Linked DNA regions of Homo sapiens: region 2 is linked to region 1. Evidence: promoter capture Hi-C in 16 types of primary human blood cells and fetal thymus (Javierre and others, 2016). All regions are on one chromosome and are shown on one strand. The core of a region is centred on a gene start or on the middle of the fragment in contact, and the rest is flanking DNA. Distances in the headings are between cores, read along the strand shown. Region 1 holds the start of TPP2 (tripeptidyl peptidase 2). Region 2 holds the start of TGDS (TDP-glucose 4,6-dehydratase).

The links. The method cuts DNA at HindIII sites, captures the fragments that hold promoters and counts their contacts. A CHiCAGO score of 5 or more calls a contact.
Region 2: a contact is called between the fragment with the promoter of TGDS here and the fragment with the promoter of TPP2 in region 1, in 1 of 17 cell types (total CD4 T cells). The highest score is 6.2, in total CD4 T cells.

The regions. Positions count from the first base shown.
Region 1 is chr13:102,593,049-102,599,480 of GRCh38, reverse strand. TPP2 (tripeptidyl peptidase 2) reads right to left here and starts at 2,495. Exons shown (of 30, transcript NM_001330588.2): 1 at 2,278-2,495. The coding sequence starts at 2,442. It overlaps LOC107984588 (a long non-coding RNA gene), which reads left to right and starts at 2,539. Exons shown (of 2, transcript XR_001749984.3): 1 at 2,539-3,033; 2 at 5,080-6,144. RefSeq lists silencers at 1,982-2,271, 2,432-2,721 and enhancers at 2,792-2,851, 2,902-3,061. The HindIII fragment of the contact is 7,622 bases long and covers 1-5,592 here.
Region 2 is chr13:94,593,039-94,599,470 of GRCh38, reverse strand. TGDS (TDP-glucose 4,6-dehydratase) reads left to right here and starts at 3,319. Exons shown (of 12, transcript NM_014305.4): 1 at 3,319-3,420; 2 at 5,564-5,630. The coding sequence starts at 3,335. RefSeq lists an enhancer at 3,146-3,455. The HindIII fragment of the contact is 5,991 bases long and covers 122-6,112 here.

The DNA.
Region 1 (6,432 bases), core at 1,246-3,745:
TTCCTTCCTTTTTCTTTCTATCCATCCTCTAATCTTAATGATGTACACATATATCTACAAAATAAATCTGTTAAAGGTACAGGAAAAAAAAATCCTCACGTTTGCAAGCCACCGTACCCAATTTCTTTTAACTGGCTATGTTTAGGCCAATATCTGAGTCAAGGTTGTTAAAAGAGAAGACTTATGCTTTCATTTTATTTCAATATTTTATCATCTGAATATTTATTACATGCAAATATCTAACATATATTTACCCTCCAAATAGTTGGTGATGAAAGATCCAGCATAAACTTCTATTCACTTATGGTGGGAGCTAAATATTGAGTACACATGGACACAAAGACGGGAACAACAGATACTGGGGATCCCAAAGGGAAGGGGTGGAAATAAGACTGAAACACTACCTACTGGGTACCACGCTCACTACCTGGGTGACAGGATCAATCACACCCCAAACCTTAACATCAGGCAATACCCCCATGTAACAAACCTGTACTTCTACCTTCTGAATCTAAAATAAAAGTTGAAATTATATATACAAAAAAGAATAAATATCATTGCCAAAATAGTTTAATATTTTTCTTGAGCATTTAAAAAAGTCACATGTAATTAGCCAGTCCTCTTATAATCAATTTTCACAACAAGGCTGTGGGGTGAAAATTATTGTTACTTTAGAGAGAGTAACAGAATAATGTGAGAAACAGATCTGGAAATTCTACCAACAAATTCTACCAAGCAGCACTTCTCCAAACTTTTCTGACCCTCTTATTATCCTGACAAAAGAACCGGTGAACCACTTATCCCAGCTGTTTTCCTCCCACTCATCCTATAAAAAGTAAACACACTCCACAGCTGAATGAAAAGCATTATTACTTTGTAATAAAGCCCCAAATGAGTTGATAGCTGTCATTGTTCTAAGTCTTTAAGTTATTAATACAACGACAACTATATAACTCCAGTTACCGGGAGGGAATTCAGTACCTGATCCTCTTCTGATTCACAAAAGATGTGCTGTACTCCAGAGTGGTGCTGAAGAACACACACCAGGAATCAAGATTCCCAGGGGTTTCTAAGCAGATTCGGCCAGACTCCCCCTCGTTACTTCCAAAATGCTACCTCAATAATCAGAAAGCACGATAAAGGATCCAGAAGGGAAGGGACATTGTGGGGAGGAGGATGAGTGTTTAGTGTAGAAAGGAGGATAAGATAGCCAGGGGCTGATCAACGAGAGATCAGCATACAGTAGGATTAGTCAGGGATGCTGGGAGATGGATCTTGAATAACGGTGAAATTTTATTACTGGATTTCAGTAAAGGGTTAAAAGTACAAAAGTTAAACTTTAAAGACTTTAAACAGAATGCTTTTAACGAGAGACAACATACTTTCAAAAAAACTACCTTCTGGTATGATACCTTGAATCTACAGATTTTAAAGTTGCCTAAGGCAAAAAACTAAGTAATTTTTAAAAACCGTCGTATGTTTTCAGGTTTAAAAAAAAAAAAGTCGCATATTTTCATAAGGTCTGAGAAGCTCGCCAAAACCAAACCTAACTGAATTCTCCTTATGTAAACGAAGACTAAGCCACAAGATTCAATGACCCTAAGCAAACACGCTGCAGAAGACCGTTTAAAAATAGAATACACAAAACTACCACAGGAAACAATTCCGGAAGAGGACTGGGTTATCTTCTGGAAACCCAGCTTTCGTGCTTAAAGACAAACTATTCTTCCCCAAACCAAATCTCCCGATCCCTAAACATTAAGTTCTCACATGTCAGTTGCCTATCTGGTGTCTCCACCCCACCCCAATGATAAAAGCTGTAAAATTCTCTTTAAAAACGTCAGGCTGGGACCGGTGTCCGAGGCACGAGGGGTAGGCAGAGGAAGGCGGCGTGGAGGGAAGGAGCCTGGGGGGTCCGGCCTGGCAGCGCCGAAGCGAGAAGGAAGGGGAGTCCCTGGGGCCAAAGGGGGACCCAGGCTTCCCCAGGCAGCCGCGCCGGGCACGCTGCTTTTGTTGAGCTGGGGGGACCACGGCCCAACCTGGGGTCCGGGCCCTCGCCCGCCCAGCGACCCTGGCACTGTGCGCCGTTGAGTCCCCTTGGCGGGCGCCCGTCCCTCCCGCGCCTGGCTCTGACCTCTGCCCACCCCGGTGCTGCCCACCCCGGCCCGGACTCGGCCGCAGAGCGGGGCTTTGGCCTGCCGGGCTCCGAGACTGTGTCCCCACCCGCGTCCCCGGCCGCCCGCGCCCCCGCGCCCGGGCCCTCGGGGGCCGCCTCACCTGCATGCCCGGAGCCCCCGGGTCGACCCCCGTGTCCAGGACTGCGATGAGCACCCCCCGCCCATCATACTCCGGGTAGCGGCAGAGGAAGGAGGCGGCTCCGGTCTCCTTCTTCGGCAGGAGACCGTGAAAAGGGAAGGGCTCCTCAGTCGCAGCGGTGGCCATGGACGCAGGATGGAGGACGAGGAAGCGGCAAACTGCCAGGCTGCGCGCGGACTAGCAGCGCGAGGACACCCGTGCGGCCTCGGGCCGGAGGCGGGGGCGAGGGGCGGGGTCGGCCCGTCTTCCACCAATCCCGGCCTGCCAGGGAGCGGTGGCCAATCACGTGCTGCTACGTAAGCCAACGGCGCCGCTCTCAGGAGCTAGGCCCGAGTATTGCCCGGGCTGCAGTGAAGGGGGAGGAGTCTGAGGACATTACTGGAGGGTTCGGATCTCGAACCTGGGGCCTTGAAGAGGCCCGCGCTTGGGGTTTTTAGGCAACAGCAGGCCTCCAAGCAGAGTCCTGGTGTCCCGGACCGAATCACTCCCCGAGAGACGGGCAAGGAGATGGACCGCCAGCCAGGAATAATGGGAACCCTTCGCTTGGCAAACGATAGTTTCCAAACTTAAGGTTGTGGATGAAACTTTTTGGTGCGGCTGCTGCAGGAGCCCCAGCCCCGGGGTGCTGCTGACCCGAGGCAAGGGAGCCGGCGCACTCACGCTTAGCCGCTAAGGAGTCTGCGGTGTCGGCGAAAGCTCCGGACATGATTTTGGAAGGTCGTAGGTTAAGGGGTGTAGACTTTGGGTTCCCCTGTGTTGTTATGCCCCTTTGATGGGGGTGAGGTGGTGAGGGGGAGCAATAGGGTGGAGACAGGCAATAGTTTCAGTCAACAGGAAGTGGGTTGTTGGTCATTCCGTCGCCTTTGTAGCCAGTAACAAAGCACGAGACTGAAATGGGCCCCTCCTATCCTCTGCTGATCCTTAGCTTCCGGGATTTCTGAAAAACATCTTTTTTTTTCCTCTTACACTGAAGTTTCTGATTGCTCCTTACGGCTGTCCACTCAATTATAGAGCCATAATTTTCAGTTTTCCAGATTCACAGTGCCTGCCGTCAGTTGCTGCAAGCTGCATAGTGGTCCTCTAATGATCTTTATGTCTATGCTCATGCCAGGGTAATCTTAGCCTTTTATTGTGCCGAAGACCCCTTTGGCAATCTGGTGAGGCCTATTTCTCAAGCAGTGTTTTAAAATGCATACAATGAAATAGATAGGATTACCCAGGAAATAAATTATGTTTAAATGCAGTTATCAAAAATACTAAAGGCAATTTTGTTATATAGCAGGAGCTTTACGTGTGTGTGTATAGTTACAGGTGTACTTCTTTTGCATTAAATAACAGGAGCTAGGGCCAAGGCTAATAAACTACCATAACTTCAAAATAGTGAAGAATATAATTATTTGGAGATAGCGGTGAAAACTGCACTACGATGAACTGATTTTTATTGGTGACATAACAGCATAACTACCCTGGTTTTTGCCTACATTCATACTTGATGTGAAAAAAATTAAGAGGTTTGTATCTTTTTTCTACGGAAGTTTTTGAACCCCTTGGATTCTGTCTATGGACACCAAGTTAAGAATACCTGGTATAAAGGAAAGCCTTATGCATGCGGTTTCCAACCCACAGAATTTCAGAGATCCTCCATTAAGTCTCAAAAATTATTCTTATGGCTGTGCAATGGTTTCAGCTGATTCCTTGATCATTTATTCAGTCCATAAGTCTTACACAAGCATGTTCTCTTTAGTGCAGAGGAAAAAGAAAAGTTGAATGTTTTTCTTCTTATTCCCAACTGTTTACATTACCTCTAGAAAAGAATTTCAAATTAACACAGACGAAAACAGAATAACAAACTCGCAGAAGACATTCAGTATAGAGCTTATAGTGATAGAACAGAATGGCTCCCAGTTTCAAGTGAACCATAGTCCAATCACTTCATTTTATAGATGAAGAAACAAAGTTAACTGACTGTCATGGATTACAAAACAGGTTGATGAAAACACGGGATTTGTCTTCTCACAATCTCTCCCCAGTATGTTCTACCACACCATGTGCATGACTTTGCCAGAGTATCACCCAATGAATAAATGGGGAATGAACAGTTTATTATGAAACCTAGGTGGCAGACTTTTTATTAGACTGCCGTAACAATGTTCTTTAGATTTTTCTTTTCCTTTCCTTTTCTTTTTCTTTTTTGACACAGAGTCTCACTCTGTGGCCCAGGCTGGAGTGCAATGTCACAATCTCGGGTAACTGTAACCTCCGCCTCCCGGGTTCAAGCAGTTCTCCTGCCTCAGCCTCCCGAGTAGCTGGGATTACAGGTGCATGCCACCACACCTGGCTAGTTTTTGTATTTTTAGTAGAGACGGGGTTTCGCCATGTTGGCCAGGCTGGTCTTGAACTCCTGACCTTAGGGGATCCACCCACCTCGGCCTCCCAAGGTGCTCAGATTACAGGCATCAGCCACTGCACCCGGCCAGATTTTTCTTTTTTTGCTTACATATCCCATAAACATGTTTTTAAAAAAGTTATGTATCCCTTTGTACAGCTGTAAAATGAAGTCTAAATTTGTCACAATTTTTTTTTTTTTTTTTGAGATGGAGTTTTGCTCTTCTTGCCCAGGCTGGAGTGCAATGGCGGGATCTCGGCTCACTGCAACCTCCACCTCCCGGGGTTCAAGTGATTCTCCTGCCTCAGCCTCCCAAGTAGCTGGGATTACAGGCATGTGCCACCACACCCAGCTAATGTTTGTATTTTTTTAAATAGATACGGGGTTTCTCCATGTTGATGTCAGACTGGTCTCGAACTCCCGACCTCAGGTGATCCACCCGCCTCGGCCCCCCAAAGTGCTGGCATTACAAGCGTGAATCACTGCGCCCGGCCTATCATAAATTTTAAAAATTATAAAGGATGTAATTTCTGGCATAGTATAAATATCGTCATTATTTAATGAAACTTTCACGTTTCTCATGTAAATATACCCAGTTGAGTGTAACTCTGATAGCTACCATCAACTATTTATAAAATATCTGAACACTTAAAAGCAGACATTTTATATCACTATTTCTTCTGGAAACTTTATTTCCATTCTATATGGAATTTTTTCTCATTGTAATTTGCATTTATAATGGAAAGGCATATTGATAATGTATCATCATCTGCAATAAAAATATATTAATTTTAAAAATTTTCCTGGAAGAAAAATGTTAAACTTATTCTTTTGGGTTATCTTTCAGTTATTACAAAGTTGATTACAACAACATGAGTAAGTCTTAAGCTTTGATTAAAAATTACAGGACAAAAAAATTTTTATTGAAAATAGAGCTCTTAAAAAGATGCTTGGTATAAATAAGTCATGCTTCTGTTAATGACAGGACTAGTTAAAAGGATAAGATTTGTATGTCTGTGTCTCTTGTAAAATTGAATCATCAATTCTTAAGAAGCGAAACCAGGATATATAAGTATTACATAATATGCCCAGAAAGTAATGTGAACAAAATTCAGACGTACGTTGAAGCTCCCATTTTAAGAATCACTCATATGACAAATGTCATCTTTTGCTCTATAACCTTTGCTTAAATTGTAGAAAAGATGGATTTAATGAGACAAATGAAAAGTGGTTTAACATAACACACAGCAGAGCATATGCTGTTATGCTTTGGTGTTTGTTCCCTAGCCCTTGTTCCTCATAATAGATTGTGGAATGTTTCAAAAATGCTGTAACTTTTTTTTGCTAATTGTGGTCTTAACAAAAATTGTTCTTGATTTTAAAAAAAGATGGATAGGATTGGTTATTGAACTTTGATATTAAATAAAGTTTTAGTGATAGTATTTCAAATTGTCCCGTTATTTGATGCCCCAGAGGCTATTACACCTGCAGGTGGTGCATAATAGTAAGATTCGGGATGTGTTCCTTTTCCCTAAAAGGTGGGAGACCCAGCACTGAAATAGGTGCAAAAGAGAATCATGTCTTTCCGCCACAGGCACGCTGCCAGGCAGATAAGCTTAGAAAAAAGTGGTTGACTTCAGGCATCTGGAAATTGATTTCATCGAAACTATCCATGTACCAGTTTGAAACCCACTATTTTATATAACCCCTGAAATCACTTTAACTCAATA
Region 2 (6,432 bases), core at 2,070-4,569, 8.0 Mb after region 1:
GTTCAAAATGCCAAGAAACTGGACAACTTGCAGTCAAGACCCTCCACTGGTAACAAAAGTAGGAGCTCAAAATTATTTCATGAATAAATGTATATAAATTATTTTCATTTAACAACAAGCTTCTATAACATATAAGGAAGTTCTCATAACAGACCTCATCATTTAGAAAAAAAAAATATTGAGGAACCACCTCCTACCATATACACAGCATTTTCAGTATTTCTGGCTGACCAGGAATATGCTGGAAGTATTAATATTTTCGGATTTTTTAAAAAAAAACTGCGGCCGGGCGCGGTGGCTCACGCCTGTAATCCCAGCACTTTGGGAGGCCAAGGCGGGTGGATCATGAGGTCAGGAGATCGAGACCATCCTGGCTAACAAGGTGAAACCCCGTCTCTACTAAAAATACAAAAAATTAGCCGGGCGCGGTGGCGGGCGCCTGTAGTCCCAGCTACTGGGGAGGCTGAGGCAGGAGAATGGCGTGAACCCGGGAAGCGGAGCTTGCAGTGAGCCGAGATTGCGCCACTGCAGTCCGCAGTCCGGCCTGGGCGACAGAGCGAGACTCCGTCTCAAAAAAAAAAAAAAAAAAAAAAAAAAAAACTGCAAGGATTCTTTATTATGCAAGTAATCCATGTGTCTCAGAAAAAAATTCACAGTCAAAAGTATATAAAGTGGGCTGGGCGCAGTGGCTCACGTCTGTAATCCCAGCACTTTGGGAAGTGAGGTGGGTGGATCACCTGAGGTCAGGAGTTCAAGACCAGCCTGGCCAACATGGTGAAAACTCATCTCTACTAAAAATACAAAAACTAGCCAGGTGTGGTAGCATGCGCCTGTAATCCCAGCTACTTGGAGGCTGAGATGGGAGAATCGCTTGAACCTGGGAAGCAGAGGTTGCAGTGAGTCAAGATTGTGGCACTGCACTCCAGGCTGGGCAACAGAGCGAGACTGTCTCAAAAAAACAAAAGTATATAAAGTAAAAATTAAACTCCCCATTTCCTCCTTTCCCTGCCCATATCTCATCCCTAAAGGTAACTTATTTTAAGAGTTTAGGGTCAATCCTTTCAAGTAAGCCACAAATACCACAAATATATGTGGTATTACAAATACCACAAATATATGTGGTATTTGTAAACCAAGGACAGGAATAAAACTGGTCCTGAAGAGAAATCATAACACAGGCCTTGAATGTTAGGCCTTTCCTATCTTTTCTTTCTTCTCAATCAACTTTGTTTTTCTCACTGTGAAGACAGGCTTTCTGGCTCCTCACTTTGAAAGAACATGGCCACCAAAAAGTTCCAGCTTTGTAGGACCTCAGAGTTCAAGTAGAGTAACCAGACTATACTAGCACCTTAGTCGAATTCTAAATCCCAAGAAGAGGCTTCAGTTGGCCTAGAGTCAGCCAGATTTCATTCTGTGGCCTGCCTGGGTCAACTTGGGGAGATCATAAAGGACAGTGGGGGGAGGAGTCTGGTCAGAAAAAAACTGTACGTATCGACTGCAATATATTTTGGTCTTCATTCCATGTTGGTATATTCTTTTTAAAGGCTATATAGCAGTTTACTGCATTTTAAAAGTTAGAAGACATTATACACATTTAGATTATTTCCAGTGTTTCATTATTGCAAGCAATACAGCAATGAACAATTATCTATATTATACATCATGGAATTTGAGGGGGTCATAGAATATGAACATTTGAAATTTTCATATGTTTTACCACTTTGCCTTGTAAAAAGGTTGTGGTATGATTCTTCCACATATACACCTGTACTGGATGTTTCCATTCGTTTTCAGCTTTGCCAAACATTATGGTGGGGAAAAAAAGATATTTATCTATTCGACAATATTTAATGGTCATTTATTCTGTGCCAAGTCTCTAAGGACATGCGATTACAGCAGAAAACAAAACAAAGCCCCTGACCTCATGGAACACTAAACAGAGGGCAGTGACATCAATGTAAATGTTGAGTGCTAGGAAGAAAAATAAAGAAGGATAAGATGATTCGGCAGGGTTGGGCAGAGCTCGCTATTTTAATTGTGGTGGTCAATAGGATGCCATTCAAGCTGAAAACGGAAGTAAGGGTAAAAACTAGGCAGACATCTGGGGAAAGACAATCAAGGTCCCGGGGAAGTAGCATGCCTGGCACATTGAATGAAGAGCAAGGAGGGTGGGGAGGCTGGGGCGGAGTGAGCAAAGGAGAGAATAGAATAAGACATCAGCGTAGGACCTAGGGAATATCTTTATCATGATTGCAAGCCTTCTGCGCTGTCTGTAATAATAATATTATTATTTTTTGAGACGGAGTTTTGCTGTTGTTGCCCAGGCTGGAGTGCGATGGTGCGGTCTCGGCTCACTGCAACCTCTGCCTTCCGGGTTCAAGCAATTCTCCTGCCTCGGCCTCCCAAGTAGCTGGGATTACAGGCGCCCGCCACCACGCCCGGCTAATTTTTGTATTTTTAGTAGAGACAGGGTTTCACCATGTTGGCCAAGCTGGTCTCGAATCCTGACCTCAGGTGATCCGCCCACCTCGGCCTCCCAAAGTCCTGGGATTACAGGCGTAAGCCACGGCGCCCGGCCTGAAATAATATTAACAACAGCAAAAGATCATTTTGCAGGCCAGGCACGGTGCTCACGCCTGTAATCCCAGGACCTTGGGAGGCTGAGGCGGGAGGTTGGCTAGATCCCAGGAGTTCGAGACCAGCCTGGACAACAGGGCGAAACCCATCTCTACCAAAAATTAGGCGGGCGTGGTGGCGCACGACTGTATTCCTAGCTACTCAGGAGGCTGAGGTGGGAGGATTGCTTGAGCCCCATTGGTCGACGCTGCAGTGAGCCGTGATCGCACCACTGCACTCCAGCCTGGGTAACAGAGGGAGACCCTGTCCCCGCCCCACTAAAAAAAAAAATCATTTTTAAATTGCAACCTCCCATCTCCATCTGCAACAACTCCCCGTTCTCAGCTCAACTGATAGGTAACCTCTAGAGATGGCTGTAGTACAAGAATGAAAAAAGGTACTCATTCATAAATCTGATCCATAGTGGTGGCATTTCCGGGAAAAACGTTCCATACCCCTACCATCCGGGCGACCCCAATTGCACCTGGCGGACCAGGCAAGGGCGGAAAGGAGCAGCGCCTGCGCGTGGTGAGCGCGGCCCCGCCCAGCCCGCTAGTGGGCGGGCAGAAACTGGCCACAGAGCAGTCTCCGGAAGCTGCCTCTGGCTGCTCTGTTAACGTGTCCCGCGAGCGAGGCGCGTCGCAAAAGGTCGCGGCGGAACTTCCCTGCGCTTTTCAGACCATACTCTTTACGGTACTAGGCACTGCTGAGCTGGGAGATGTCGGCGGCGTGTTGGGAGGAACCGTGGGGTCTTCCCGGCGGCTTTGCGAAGCGGGTCCTGGTGACCGGCGGTGCTGGTTTCATGTAGGTAATGGCGCCGCTAGCCAAGCAGTGGCTCCCCAGAAACCCCTACCTTTTCCCGCAGCTCTGCTTGCCCTAGGTAATTTGGGTCCAGCTTTGAGGGGTCCTTATTCTGATATGGGGAGGGTCCTAATGCACGACCTGGACCAGCTTTTCTCTCTCTGGCCTGCAAAGAAGTGGTTCCTTTGAAACTGACTTCTTTAAAACGCCTCTTCCAAAGCTGCGTTACTCTCCGCCCTTCTGTGGCCGGAGGTGCTCACCATGTCACTCCTTGAGTGCGTGCAAGTTACCCTAAGCTGCTCACCGACTGCTTCCCACCTCCAGCCTAGAGCACCCACACCCCACGATGGGCCCTGTACATATAGGCACCCCCAAAACGATTTAAGGACTATAATAGGACATCTATGTAATCAGCAAACTTTTACAAATCCACTGTTGACACCCTTTTCTTCCTCAGACCCACATTCGAGCAGCAAGTCCTCTCTACTTCCAAAGTATATCCTTACGGCGACCACTTCTCACCAGTTTCCCGTTTCCACCCTAGCCCATGTTTACTGTCATCTTTTGCCTCGACTGCTGCTGTAGCCTCTTGGTTGGCCATAACTGCGTCCACTCATGTTCCTTTAAAGCCTGTTGCTCACATACAAGTCAGTGTTTCTTAAGTCAATCAGATCATGGTAGAAGCAGGATTTTACTTCAGTGGTTCCTGCCACACTTAAGAATAAAGCCCAAACTCTACCATATCTAGAAAACTCAAGTGCCCAAGCCCTACTTTTGCAACCTGATCTGCTTTTCTGTACCTGCCATGCTTCCCCTCTTAGTTCTTGGAACACACCAAGATACACACTTCTGTCTTGAGGCCTTTGCACTTGCTTCCCCTTTCCTTAGGCTGTTTGCACCACTCAATTCTGGTTTTTATTCAGATAGCACCTCAGAGAGTTCTTACCTGACCACCATATCTAAAATAGCCCCTCTCCCAACTAGCACACTTAACCTCTACCTGAAATTATATTGCGGATTTGTGTCTGCTTGTTTATTGCTTGTATCCCCACTCTAAAATGCAAACTCGGTAAGGACAGAGACTACTGTTCATTCAGCACCTGGAAGAATGCCTGGCCCATTCTATATAAGTCTTTAGTAATTGTGGAATGGATGAATGCAAGAGTAATAAACAGGAAACTCTCCTATCCTCCCCTCAAGGAACTCAGTGGCTAGTGGAAGAAGTGGGAATGTGAGGATTCCTGTTTATGGCCATTTGCACATTAAATCACCCCTTCTAATCCGACAAGTCATTTGGGGGAGAGCATCAGGCTGGCAAGTTTCACTTAATGAGAAAGAGGACTATGGACATGAAAGGGTGATACTTGTGTGAGAGTGCGGGTCCAGGAAGGGTGCGACTTAGAAAGTGCTGTGAAAGGAATGCCGAATACAAACTTCAAGTTCATAATTTGGTCAAGGGCTCCCCTCTCCTGGGAGCCCAACATTTTAAGTATACATGGTAAATCTGGTAGATCATTTCACTGAGATATGCCTGTGATTCCCCTTTAGGGTCCTCTGAAGCCCAGGACCCACTGTGGATATCCAACTCAGAATGGTTTCAGCTGTTATTAGCCTGGGAATCCTGGGTTTAGTCTAGAAGCCTCCTGAGGATTCTGGTTTAACATTACCAAAATCTTATACCAAGAAATAGCAATTGCAGAAGTTACTATTAAATATAGACAACTGACTATACTCATAGTAATTTCATTTTTACATACTTATATCTGCAGTTCCTGAAAAGGCATGCTATAGGCATGTACAGTTGTGCTGACTAGCTCCCATTTATTGTTCCACTTTACTCGATACTTGTACCTGTATGGATGGCATCGTTTGGTTAAACTGACTTTTTTCCCTATACCCAGAACCAGTACATTCTCTCTTCTGCATAGTCTAAATGGAATGTAAAACTTTTGTTTATAGATACTGTTGAGAAGTTTGGTAAAAAGTTTGCATGTGTGTATATTTAGTGTAGTTATGTTTTCTGTTATCTTAGAAAAAATTAAAGTTATCTTTGAGTATTTTCCTAGTACTCAACACCTTAGGAAAATATTCAAGAGTTTAGGGAAGTTAAAGTTTTTCACTAACAAGATATACTTTTTTTCCATAGTGCATCACATATGATTGTCTCTTTAGTGGAAGATTATCCAAACTATATGATCATAAATCTAGACAAGGTGAGTTTTATAAAAATGAGCATCATGCACTGAAATTACATTTCAATTTATGTTTTCTAAAAGTACTAGAATCTTGTCATGCTGATATTTAAATTTTTTATTTAGTCATTTTAGCAATTCAGAGGCTCTGTATAGTAATGTGCTCATGCTGTATTTAATCTTATATAAAAGTTTTTGAAACCTGCATTTCTTATGTTGGTCCACAAAATAAAGTTTTTGTTTTATTTTGTTTTTTTCAGTTGCTACTTTGCAAATGGACTTTTTGGATTTTCATTCAAAAAAACTATAAGAAAAATTCATAAGGCAATTTGGTGATTATAAGCCTTAATTGGATTTTTTTTCTATTTTTTAATTGACATATCTTAGTTGTACTTGTTATGGGGCATATGGTGATGTTTTGATACATGTATACAATGTGTAATGATCAAATCAGGGTAATTGGGACATCCATCATAAGAAGAACCCTTAACTCTTATGAAGCTTTGCCTGACTTGCTATTATGGACAGGAATTTTTTCTGTATCACCAATATACCAACAGTTTGAGGAATAGGTATAATGAATTATAATATGTATAACACAGGTGTAATTATTTTCAATCACTAATTCCTTTTCTGTAAGAAATGGTAAACTTTTCTAGCCACCAGTGGCTACAGGCAAATTTTGGCATGAACATTTTTTTTTTTCTTTGAAATGGACTCTCACTCTGTTGCCAGGCTGGAGTGCAGTGGCACAATCTCAGCTCACTGCAACCTCCACCTCCTGGGTTCAAGCGATTCTCCTGCCCCAGCCTCCTGAGTAGCT